2 separate regions of the Homo sapiens genome follow, and region 2 is linked to region 1. Evidence: promoter capture Hi-C in 16 types of primary human blood cells and fetal thymus (Javierre and others, 2016). All regions are on one chromosome and are shown on one strand. Each heading gives the region's core, a stretch centred on a gene start or on the middle of the fragment in contact. The rest is flanking DNA. Distances are from core to core; before and after follow the strand shown. Region 1 holds the start of NCAM2 (neural cell adhesion molecule 2). Region 2 has its middle 170 kb from the start of LINC01425.

Region 1 (6,078 bases), core at 2,525-5,024:
TGAGGGAAATCCTCTGGGTTACTCTGACAATAAAGATATTAATTTACATTAGCCTTTACATTACATCTTCCCCAAGTGCAAAAGAAGACCCAGTCGATTTAATAGAAACTTTGCACAGAGAGGCTGATATCAAAGAATTAGAGCACAGCAGATAGAAAAAGCATACGAGAGAGGCTGGAGCCATGTAACAGCCCCGACAGAAGATGAGTTTGTGGAGCTCTCTCCTGTAATCTTCAAACTAGTAGACACTCACACACCTGTGCTCTATTTTTAGAAGGTACATTGCTGTAATGTACAATGACTTACTAGCACTTCACCAAAGAGAATAACTGTAAGCAGATGACTGCTTTAACTGATCAACTGGGCAATTCACCCCTCCTTTCCTCACGATTTTGGCTTAGGTAAGTGTTCTAAGTGGTACGTTTGAACTGCATTGCAAGAGAGATGAATAGCATTATTCTTACTTTAGGTTTTAGTATAACAGTGCTTCTATCTTACATATGTGAACATCCAGGAAAAATGCTTATTAATCATACTTGTTTAATTTTTAAAGGAAGAAGGAAGTGGTTTCAAAAATGTAAAAACTCTCACGAAAGCAATCCATACATACAACAGTTTGGAAATTTGAATATACAAAGATCCAAACAGCAAATGCAGTTAATCAGAAACTGAAGTTATCACTTGAGATTTATGATTACAAAGCCTGTGACCAAGTTTTGAACACAAAGGAAAAATAATTGCAAAAGTTACAGAATTACAGCATTTTCTTTCATTGACAATTAAATTCAGACTTCACAATAACATTCTAACCTTACTTCATTATACATTAATCTTGCAGTGGAAATTAGAGGCTTTTAAAGGAGTATTTCTGCTACAATAAAAAAAAGCGTCTTACTACTGTACAACAATAAGGTTGTATTGAGAGTTACAAGTAAACTATTAGGCCTTGTTAGCTAATTATAGTATTGGCATTCACTTAAGTTAGTCAGTTTCTCACTTAATGTCATTTTCTCCTATTCAACTGCTTCAGTTCAAAACGTTTTGACTCCTAAAAAGGGAATACATCATTGTTGCCTTTCCTCAGTCTAACTGCACACCACTTTCCAAAGCAATAGCTTCAATCATGCTTCATAAAATCCCCTGCAAGTATACTGTTGGACACATAAATCAGCAAGCTGAGATTTTAGTATTTCTAAGGCAAGACCAGGGATCACTGACTGGTGGCTTTTCCATGGCCCTCTTTACAAGAGAATAAACAAAATCATGAGTTACACTAGGTCTGTTTTTTTAAACAGCTCCCGGTGGTGTGTCTGATACTTGCTGCTGCATCCTTAATTAGAGAACAAAACACTAGCATAGAGGAATTGGACTCCAGGATGAGGATATCTATATCCAAGCATCTCTGACTTCATCAGGACACATGGCATAGAAGTACTATATGTTCCCTTTCACAAAAGCTACGTCTCTCTGATATATATCTGTGTCTCTATGAGTGCCACACATTGTGAAATTGTACTAGATAGAGAGATCTTTACAATGATGGTCTCCTTCTACCCTGTTTCATTACAGTGAATATGGGCTCCCCTTCAGAGATGCTTGTCTCAGAGTGCCTCTTCATAACCACCTCGTATCCTGACTTACAAATTAGCTGAATCACAATTTCACATCTATGTTACATGTACACATCCAAATTTTATGTCTCTGTGTACTATTTAAACCTATATATCTAAACATTTCTAATTTCCTATGTCTCCAAATTCCAACACACTTAGCCTCTACAATGATAAATTCAGATTCCACAACTGAGACATTTTTCTTCTCCAAACCACTCACAATGTAATCCTAAGTCTGCATAAACTTGTTTCCTATTATGCTCCCATTCTGCCCCACACTACCTACACTTATTTAATTGCAGTTGTATTTTAACTGCAATTTTCAGGGATTGTTTCTTGGTGCTCAAAAATACCTGTCTATGCTATAAATGAACAGTTAAACACAATCAGCAGCTATCTGAAAATTAAAGAAGCATATCTGTAGGACATATGTGCATGCTGATCTTTGCTTAAGAACCACTGAATTAACGAATTGGGCTAGTATTAGCTTCAGATGGACATATCTGCAATTTTGCTAAGACTGAAATATTTCATACTCTATGTTAGGAAGGGAAAATGAGCAGAATCTTATCAAGACACTTTACAAACTATAGGAATATCCAACATTTGCATACTGATTTCTGAACATTAAATCTGCATCCAATCGTGTTTCATCCGCCACTAACACTATAGCTGTGGGGAGGAGAAGGGCAGAAAAAGGAAGGCTTCACATCCAAAATGTCAAGCCCTGCTGAAGAATGATAGAAGGACTCTGTGGAAGAGCAGAAACCAACTTCTGGGCTTAAAATGGAGTTCTACCACCCCCTGCTGGACCAAACGAGCAATACAGAAGAGGCTAAAAATGCTTAGAACTGAATATCTTGGGGATATTTTAACTTGTCTTGTAATTTATTATATTATTTTAAAAAACCAATTTCACACTACACTAACAACATAACATTCTTTGCAATCATTACATATCTCAAAATTAGTGCTATTTTATTTTTCCTTTAAAGACTTTCACCAATGCATGTTTTAGCATTTTGTGTCCCTAATTAAACGTCCAAACTTGTCTGGACAGTTGAAAATGCTTCCATTTATTGTAAATATATTTCATGTGAGTGTTTACTATCTAAACAGCCAGATAAATTCATATCTATCTCTCTAGAGACAAACAGTGATAGCTTCCACAAATTCCCTCTCAGGTTATTCTACCAGGCTATTCATTTTTTTTTTTTAAGAGATAAAAGCTTCCACCAGTTCTCCCACAACCCCAAAAATCCTCTACAGGTGTAATTACAATGTAATGTTATAAAATGATTCCACCTTTCTGTATTAATAAGGGGTTGGGGTCAAAATGAATGACTGCAACACATCCCTAGTTTTATCCATTTGCTTTCTTACACACAATATCCACGGCCCCTCTCTTAGTTTCCAACAGAAATAAGCCATCATCATTCACTTCATAGTCAGGAATTAGGGTTTTGGGAAAGGGGTGGAAAAAAAAAAGAGTCTCCAAGAATCGAACGTCTTGCACACAGCAGATATTTTGCAAATGAGTTTAACACTGATAGTTTTTGCTGCTTCTGTAAAACACCATCGTGCCCTTTCCTTCCGCAACCTCAGATATTTCACTGTTAACACACTCATCCAATTTCTGATAATAAAAATAAGAGAAAGCCATAATCCCAGAGGAAAAAAAAAGAAGAAGAAGAAGCGGTTTCCCTGGATATCCTGCTCACCGATTCCCCTCTCCAATTCTGTATTTTCCCTTCTCTTATTTAAGGGTCTCCACACAACAGATACAATTTTAGGGACAGCTAGGAGAAAGAACGAAAATAATAATAACAACAACAGCAATAACTGTAACTTTAGTTCTTTCATTTCATTCTTCCTGCGCCTCCCTCTTTGCCTCTCTTGGCCGGGTGGAAGGGGGAGGGAAAGTAAATGCAATAAAGCGCCACACTCCTACCTTGCCCGCTACTGACAAGCAACCCCAGCAGGTAGAAGGAGAGGAGGAGGCTCATGTTCAGGACGTGACACCGGTGGACAGTTTCAAAGTTATTAAGTCCAGCCCTGGAGAGAGAACCTTTCGCTGCCCCGGCCGCCTCTGCTAGAGCCGCCGCCGCCGCTCCCGCGGTGCCCCAGCCGCCCGCAGCCCGCGCGCTCCTCCTCGCAAAGTGACTGCAAGCTCCGCTCTTGCCGCACTATATCCAGGCAGCGGCGGCGGCAGCGGCGGCAGAAGCAGCAGCAGCAGCGGCCGCCGCGGCGGCAGCAGAGCCGGGCGGGGAGGGCGGCGGGGGCGGGGGCGCGGCGAGGGGAGGTGCGGCCGAGGCGTATCCCTCCGCGCTGCACGGCGGCCGCTCTTCCGCGAGGCGCGCGGTCCCGGGATTCGTCCGCAGTGGAGCTCGAAGTCACGGGTTCGGTCCCCGGTGCCTCCGCCTAGAGGGGCGGCCGCGATCGCGAAGGCGCCACTCGCCCGCCGGCCATCCGCAGGTTCATGCACGCCCTGAGCCGAGAAGGGCGTGGGGATGGGGGCAGCCTGGAGCTCCTTCACAGCCGCCGGCTGCCTCAGGACAGCTGAGCTGATGCTGAGCTGAGCTGAGCTGAGCTGATGCTCATGCAGATGCTGATGCTGATGCTGATGCTGATACTGATACTGCAGGCGACCGCCCCGAGCGCGCCCCGGCTCAACGTGAATGGGGGATCTGGAGGCGGGCGGTGTGCCCCGCAGCTTATTCCTTTTGGGCGTGGGAGGAGGGAGATTCTTGTCTCTCCGTGGACCTCCTTCTCCCTCTCTCGCTCAAACCTGGAGCAGGCTGGCCCCTTGCGCGGCTGTCCCCTTCCCACGCTCCCCACCCCGCCGCGACAGAGGGGAAGCAATTGTACCCTAAAGTCTACACTGTCTGTCTCCTCAGGCGCTAAAGGGTGGGCGGAAAAATAACGTACAGAGTGTTTCCTCTACATCTCGACCCATTGCTGTTGGGAGCGGCACCTTACGGGAGAGACACTGGAGAGGGGACGAGCCGCGGGAGGGGCTGCGTTCAACTCAGCCTTAGCCTCAGCTGTGTCCTTAGAGGCCTGAAGTCTCTCCTGGCCTCACTCCGCGGGCTCTGCCCTCGGTCCCAGTGCGCTGCACTGGCCAGATCCCCGCCAGGAGTGCACCGAGGGAGGACTGCAAATGTGCAAAGATGAGTTGGGTCGCGGGGGGGAGACCTTCCCCAGATCAGTGCCCTACCCCGAACACCCACGTACCCGCGTGTGCGAGTGTAAATTGAAGTGAGGGAGCCGTGGCAAACGCCCGGAACTAACTCTCTGCTCCTTAAGATTGGGGCTTATCGTTATTTCTCCTAGAAGGGTAGGAAAACGTTTGTGAGATTAACGTCACCTCTCCTGCAAGAGCGGTTAAGAGGCAGAATCACCGGCCCGGGTGCGGAGCCCATGTCAATCTGGCCTGGGGTTACCGCGACCTGCAAACGCTGACGATGGGTCCTTTCATCTGCACTTTCTCTCTGGCTCCTTAGAAAACTCAACTGCCTCGCCCCGGCCTCCACAAGGACCCTAGCTCCTTCCTTATCAGTGAGGACATAGAAATAGCGGGGGTTGGAGAGGGGGGAGGTAGAAATGTAGAGCTCAGAATCCAGCCCCAGCCTGGGGATTTCACGCTGAAAAGGGCAGTGCATTGCCTTCAGGGAGGGCAGGGGGCAAGAGTAGACACAGGCTAACATGCATAGGGGAGATACCGTCTGCGATTTGTCCTCCCCAGGCAGAGCGCTTTATACAGATGATTCGTCCACTTGGCATCCTGGGATGGGGTTATCAGGAAGAGAGGAGGGGAAAGGCGGCCCTCAACTCACCATCGCTGAACTGCCTTAAGCAATGGCCCTCTCAGCACCTCACAGCTAGAGAACCTCTTATTTCCTCTTGATCTTATAGCAGACAATATATTTAGAAAGTTATTTTGCCACGGTACCCTTCTCACACCCTTTACTGGTTCTGGAATGCACTAACCACACTTAAGTAAACTCATGGTCAGCTCTTTGCAGGAAAGGGTGGAAGTAGCACATTTATAGATGTGAAAGACCGTGACTCATTTATTTACTCCAATTCTTCATTTCTCTTGGGCATTGATAAATGCTACACAGTAGGCCTTCTGCGTCCACAGTTCTACATCCTCAGATTCTACCAACCATGGATGAAAAATAACTTTAAAAAAAATGAAACAATGATACAATCAAAATAACGTAAATAAAAAAATACAGCAAAGTGACTATTTACAAAGCATTTGCATTATATAATGTATTACACCTAATCCAGAGATGATGTAATATGCAGGAGGTTATATGCAAATTTATGCTATTTTATATAAGGGACTTGAGCATCCAAGGATCTGTGAGAGTATTGAAACTAGTCCCCCCTGTGGATACCAAAGAATGACTTCAGCACACACACACACACACACACACACACACACACACACACACAA
Region 2 (6,268 bases), core at 2,848-5,347, 920 kb before region 1:
TTATAACATTTTATTATTAAAAGAGAAATTATAATACTATCCTATACTCAAGACAATGTTATTTAAAAGTAGTAAAAGTACAGGAAACTGAAGGGAGGTAAGTTTTCTACACTGCACTCCAAGTGCTAAATGTTATAAAGAAGTACTTTTTGAAACCCTCTCTGTTTGGAATATATACGTATTTGTATATATTTGAGATGGTTTTGATCATTAACTCAATATTCTTAACAGATATATGTCATTTTAGATTCTATGTTTGTTCTTTAATTTTGTAGAGTCGAGTTTTTCAAGAAATATGTCAATTTCATCCAAGTACTCAAAGTTATTATAAAGTTTTCTTTTAACCTTTTAATATCTGAATGATCAATTTTTGATATCCTGGTTTTTATTTCTTATTTTGGTAATTTTCTCTTTAAAATATTTCTTTATTAATCTCACTATATGTTTATCATCTTTATTAAACCTTCAACAGAACTACGTTACTTTGCTTTATTTTTGTTTTTGTTACTCTTGTCTTTTATTTCATTGACTTCTGTTTTTATTTTTATTATTTACTGCCCATTATTTTTAATTTAATTTGTTCTTATTGAGCTTATTGGGTAGGAGCTCCTACAATTGTTTTCAAAATTTATTCCTCTTAAATTATAGGCATTTAAATCTACAATCTTGCTTCTAAGAACTATTTAGGCAGTATCTTATATATTTAAATATTTTGAGTTTTCCTTTTTTTATAATATTTTAAAAATAATTTGGGGATGTTTGCTTTTACCTATGGGCTGCTTAGAAATGTGTCATAGAATTCTCAAATATTGGGGAATTTTCTGTTTCTTGTTTTATTGATTTTGAATTTAATACAGTTTGAGTCAGGCTAAACACTGTATTTTTTTATAATTTGAAATGCATTGAACGTTGTTTTATGGACCGAAATATGTTTTTTTCTGTGTGTATTTCTAAAGCCTGTAGAGTTGTAATTGTTGGACATACCTTTCTGTAAATCTTCATTAGGTCAAGTAGGTTGATAGTGTTGTTATGATCTCCTATATGCATGCTGTATTTTTTCTACTTATTCTATTAATTACTGACAGAAGAAATGTTAAGTCCTCAAATTTTAGAATTTGTCTGTTAGTTTTGTTTCATGCATTTTTCAAGTTCTGTTTTTAGGTGTATACATATTTAGAAAATAATGTCTTTCTAATGAATTGTTCCTTTATTATTATGATGAAATGTCTTTATTTCTTGACTCATTCTTTTTTTATAAAGTCTACTTGTATCGTAATAAGATAGTCACTAGGATTTTTATGCTTATTATTTTACTTCTAACCTAATGGTGTCTCTCATTTTAATACGTATGATTTGGGCATTGTTTCTACTCTAAACTCTTAGCATTTCCATGGTCTCTGACTTGATGACCTGAGATTGAGAGATGATTAACGATCTCTTTCCCTTTTACCTGAGCTAGACCTCTGATGTCCCTGTAGCACTGTCTGACCTCTCTTATTTCTGTTGCTTTGTTCTACATTTGGCTGAAACTGCTCCACTGTAAGCTTCATGCGCTCTTGCTCCGCACATTCTGTCAAGCCGTTCATCACAGGAAGCCCTCATAAAGATTTCTGCCTCCTCCTTACCAACCGTTTGACACTACCTCCTTTCCAGTGTCTTGCCCTGTAGATCCAAGATTGCTGATCTGAACTCTGATTTTTGCTCTTGGGTCCAGTAGTAACACCATGCCCTGCTAAGAATGCAGCTTGCTCTGCCACTTTTAAGGATACTTTCACCAGGAGCCAGGGTGATTTTGAGGTTTGCCTTCCGATTTTCCCTTCCCTCAGTGATCAGTCTTTTGTTGCCTCTTTTCTTTTGACTAATAACATTAGTCTCAAATACCCCGTCTAGCTTTAAAGTTGTTTATTGTGGGATGGCAAATTCAGTACCAGTTATTCTATCATATAATCAGAACCCCCTATTTTTTGTTATTGTTTCCTTTCATCTTTCATCTTTTCAACTTTATATTGCTTGTGGGAAACTAGCTTTGACTCTGTCACTTAGTAAATTCTGTGACATACTAATATCCTCCAGGGGGAGCCAAAACATTAGCGTGCAGGTATAATGCACCTGGATCTCTGAGGTTCCACTGACCATGAAGGTATTTCAGATGAAATCTTAGTAAGAAATGCCTTGATTTTTTTTTTTAATCGCAGCAGATACCTCTGTTTTAATTAGGACACACACTAGTTAAAGGAAAATTTCCTCACAAAGATGGTCATCAGATCAAAGTCATATCTGTGAAGATGATCTATAGCTTCAGTGGAGATTCAAGGCCTCAGGGCTTTAGACGGAATGTTGAGTCTTTGAAGATAAATAATGTCAAATCCATTATTTGATAAGGTCTTGCAATCAAACTGTGGCAGTGATTTTAATGGTTTCATTTGAATGTTTGCTGTAATAAAAGGATAAGAATGTTACAAATATGGTGAGTGTGTAGGGCGGGTTCTTTAACTTCAGAGAGTTTGCTCATAATCCTTTTTGGCTTTAATTTATTTTCATTGACTGAATTTCCCTTTGAATTTTTAAAACTCCAAGCCACTTTGCATATTCTCTTTTTAACTCTGACCTTTCCATTTATTTATATATTTATATGCTTGTTGCTCTGTTTCAGTTTTTTTTTAGTTCTTAATCTCACTGCCAAACACTGGCCCTTGAGTTCTGTTTATTATAGTTGAATTTAATTGTGACTTGATGTAAAATTACAAATGGGTAACAAATTGTGAATTTGTGATAAAAATGGAAAGCTATTCAAAGGAAGAGTCACCTATTTGGTTTCCTAGAGTCATCTCCCAGTTGGCCTCTCAAATGCTAATTTCACTTTCTTTTAATCTATCCTCCATATTTTGCCCATGTGTTCTTTCTAAATACAATTCTATTTTGGTTTCTCTTTGCATCAAATATACCAGCAACTGACCATGACATAAAATTCAAAGATAAATTTATTAGTGAGGCAAGATGGAGGTCATGCATATCCATTAAACTCATCACTAACCCTCTCTTCTCTGCACACTCTGTGTTCCAGGCATTCTATGAAGTATGTTAAACTCTCCAGTGATATGTTTTCTCTTAATGTCAAGTCTTTATTAATTCTGTTCCTCAGCCTAAAATTTCACCTCCAAACACATCCATCTGTAAAGTGCTTGCTTCTTTTATCTTTTTTTCAAGTGTTGCATTTTCTTTTTAAGAATTTATTGACACCCTTTCCTCCCTCAAGCAGGTCCTTCCTTCTCTTTCATGGTTTTCAACTTCATTCTCTAGGTATTTCTACTGTAATAAAGTGTTGAAATTGTCTAATTTATGTCTATATTTCCCTATATAGTTTGTGGTTCTTACCTTCTTATGGACTGAGTCCCACATTATTCTAAAATTCTCAATGTCTACAACTTTATTTATATTTGTCCCCAACATCATTCAAAGTAAACTCACACATAGCAAAAGACTTTGAACTGATAAATAAATAAGTGTGTAAATAAATAAATAAAAGGTGGAAAGAGCCCTGTTTTTTACATAAACACGCCAACTGAGGTCAAGTACAATATGGAAGTTCTTTTTAGCCTACTAAAAATAAATCGAAACTCAAACAGAATATGTCATTTTTTTAAACCTTGACTTTTTTTTCCTGGCTATAGTAAAAATGTGGGAGAAATATAGTTATATGATGAGAAAGCAATTGTAATAACCCTGGAATATGATTTCCTAGCCAGGTCGGAAGCTGAGCAGAGACATGGCTCCACTAGAGTAAGTGTTCTGCAGAGAGACGACACCTCTGGCTGATCTGTGTGTTCCTGCCACGCAAAGCTGCTCTCTAGGCCCTCTGTGAATAGACATGATACTCACTATGCATATTTCCTAGATATGTTCCTGAGCCTAGGAATTCCTTGATATATTTTCTGGTTTCTTGGAAAAAAATAGGTGTTACCTAGGACCTCTCGGCTTATGCTAGAGATAGCAACATAGGATGGGAACAGAGCCTGCTCTCTTTGTTGAGGTATTCTCACTCCTACTAGTCCAAACATACTCTTTTTAGCTGGTGAATTAGTACATTTCCACACTGCTATAAAGACATACCCGAGACTGAATAATTTATAAAGAAAAGAGGTTTAATTGACTCACAGCTGGGGAAGACTCAGGAAACTTACAATCATGGCAGAAGGGGAAGCAGGCACATCTTACATGGCAGCATGCAAGAGAGGAGAGTGAAGGAGGAATTTCCACACACTTATAAAACCATCAGATCTCATGAGAGCTCACTCACTATCATGAGAACAGCATGAGGAAAACCAACACCATGATTCAACCACCTCCCTTCCTCCACACACGGGGATTATAATTCGAGATGAGATTTGGGTGGGGATACAGAGCCAAACTATATCTGTTGTGATCTCAGTGAAACTGCATAAAGAACAACTATGTCCAACATAAGGCTGTAGAATAATAAGGAAAAGCATGCACTGTGCTACATCCCTTCTTGATTTATCCCCAATAAATTTTATCTAGTATCATGAGGCATTAGTAGTGTGTTTCAGTAACTCCCTTAGATGATACTAGAAACCCAAGATAAGCTGTGTTTTACTCATCCTGGTACCCTGTTTCATTTTTAATTTTGCTTTTTGGAGATAATTCTAGTGAGCCATCTCATCACCTAGGGATAATGACAGGTGACAAGGAGGCACAGACCCACAGGAGTTAGTCCCCGTCCTCCCACAGAGACTGGGTGAAAGAACAAGTTATCTCCCTGAATGTTTGCATTTCAGAGATAGCTCTCAGGTCCTTGAAGAAACAGTTTAGAGTGTTAGCTTCACGTCCATTACAAGAGATTAAAAAAAAAAGATACATAATTGCAAGCTGCCTATGGAGTGAACATTTGTGTACTTCTAAAATTTATTTGTTGAGACCTCTTTCCCACTATGATGGTGTTAAGAAGTGAGGTCTTTGAAGTTAATGAGATTATTAGGGTAGAGTCCTCATAAATGGGATTACAACCCTTACAAAGGAAACACCTGAAAACCTCCTTATCCCTTTCACCATGTGAGGATACAATGAAAAGACCGCAGCCTGCAACCTGGAAGAGGGCTCTCAACAGGCACCACTGTGATCACAGACTTCCAGCCTCCAGCATGGTGAGAAATACATTTGTGTTTCTTAAAAGCCACACGGTCGATGGTATTTGTTATAGCAGCCTGAATGGAGCAGTCTTTTGAAGTAGCTTCTCCAAGATGGTTTTCCACAGCCTATCTGCTTATCAGCAGGTTTTTGATGGAACAAATAGTAAATTCATTTGGCAACATTGAGCTTTCTCAGGCCGACATTATAAGGGGAAAGGGGAGGATGTAGAGTAGGGGGAGAGCTGGGGTCATCCCAGGAACACAGCCTTATACTGCTATTATAGAAGCCATTCTAGAGTTTGGTCATCTCTTAGTGCAGGGGTTTGGATGGAATCGCTGAGTCGTTATATGTCGAGAGGTCTACCGGTCTCACTTCAATTGATATAATTTTCACGCCTGAACTATTCCTCCTGACCCTCTTCTGGTGCCATTCCTGGGGAGGACACGGAACAGGGGAAATGGTGATTTCTCCAGGTTAGCCTCTTGCTTGTATTATGGCAATAAGTGATGGGAGGCTTGACTGTTTCTCGTTTTGGCTTGTTGTCTTCATTGGCTACTCCCACACCTGGCAGTGTGGCTTCCTCCGACTCAGCTGAGCCTCCTGCCATACTCCACTCCTTTACCAAATAGAGTCCTTCTCTTCCTTATTTGAGAAGGAATTGTATAGTTCATTTCTCTTCTGAATAATATAGTTCTGTTTTTTTTCTGTGTGTATGTCAAATCTGATTTTTGAGGAACCTCCATACTCTTCTCCATGCAGATATACTAATTTACGTTCCCACCAAGTTTATGAGAGTTCTCATTTCTTCATATTCTCACCAGCATTTGTTATTGCTAGTCTTCTGGATAAAAGCCATTTTAACTGGGGTGCAATATATGTCATTGTAGTTTTGATTGTGAGAATTGTGACTCTTTCTAAGCCATTACATATTCATTCATCTGCAATGTCTGAAAATGGATAAAAGTTTTATCCAGTGGGTGTTTTGATCTAAGGGGATGGATAGACAGATCGTATGCTCCTATCAAGGGTACCTGGAGCAAATGTAAACTTGTGTTTCAGCTGGTTTTCAGACCACCCTCCTCTGCCCCCAGAGGTCACTTAGGATGACACCAACAACTAA

Evidence for each region. Contacts are between HindIII fragments. The CHiCAGO score rates a contact against its expected background, and 5 or more counts as called.
Region 2: a fragment that was not itself captured here is called in contact with the fragment with the promoter of NCAM2 in region 1 in 2 of 17 cell types (M2 macrophages and M1 macrophages); the score reaches 11.9 in M2 macrophages.

Annotation. Positions count from the first base shown.
Region 1 is chr21:20,996,105-21,002,182 of GRCh38, reverse strand. It overlaps NCAM2 (neural cell adhesion molecule 2), which reads right to left and starts at 3,774. Exons shown (of 18, transcript NM_004540.5): 1 at 3,565-3,774. The coding sequence starts at 3,619. The HindIII fragment of the contact is 4,236 bases long and covers 2,845-6,078 here.
Region 2 is chr21:21,917,641-21,923,908 of GRCh38, reverse strand. No RefSeq gene overlaps it. Among named protein-coding and RNA genes, the nearest start is that of LINC01425, 170 kb to the right of the region's middle. The HindIII fragment of the contact is 5,101 bases long and covers 1,547-6,268 here.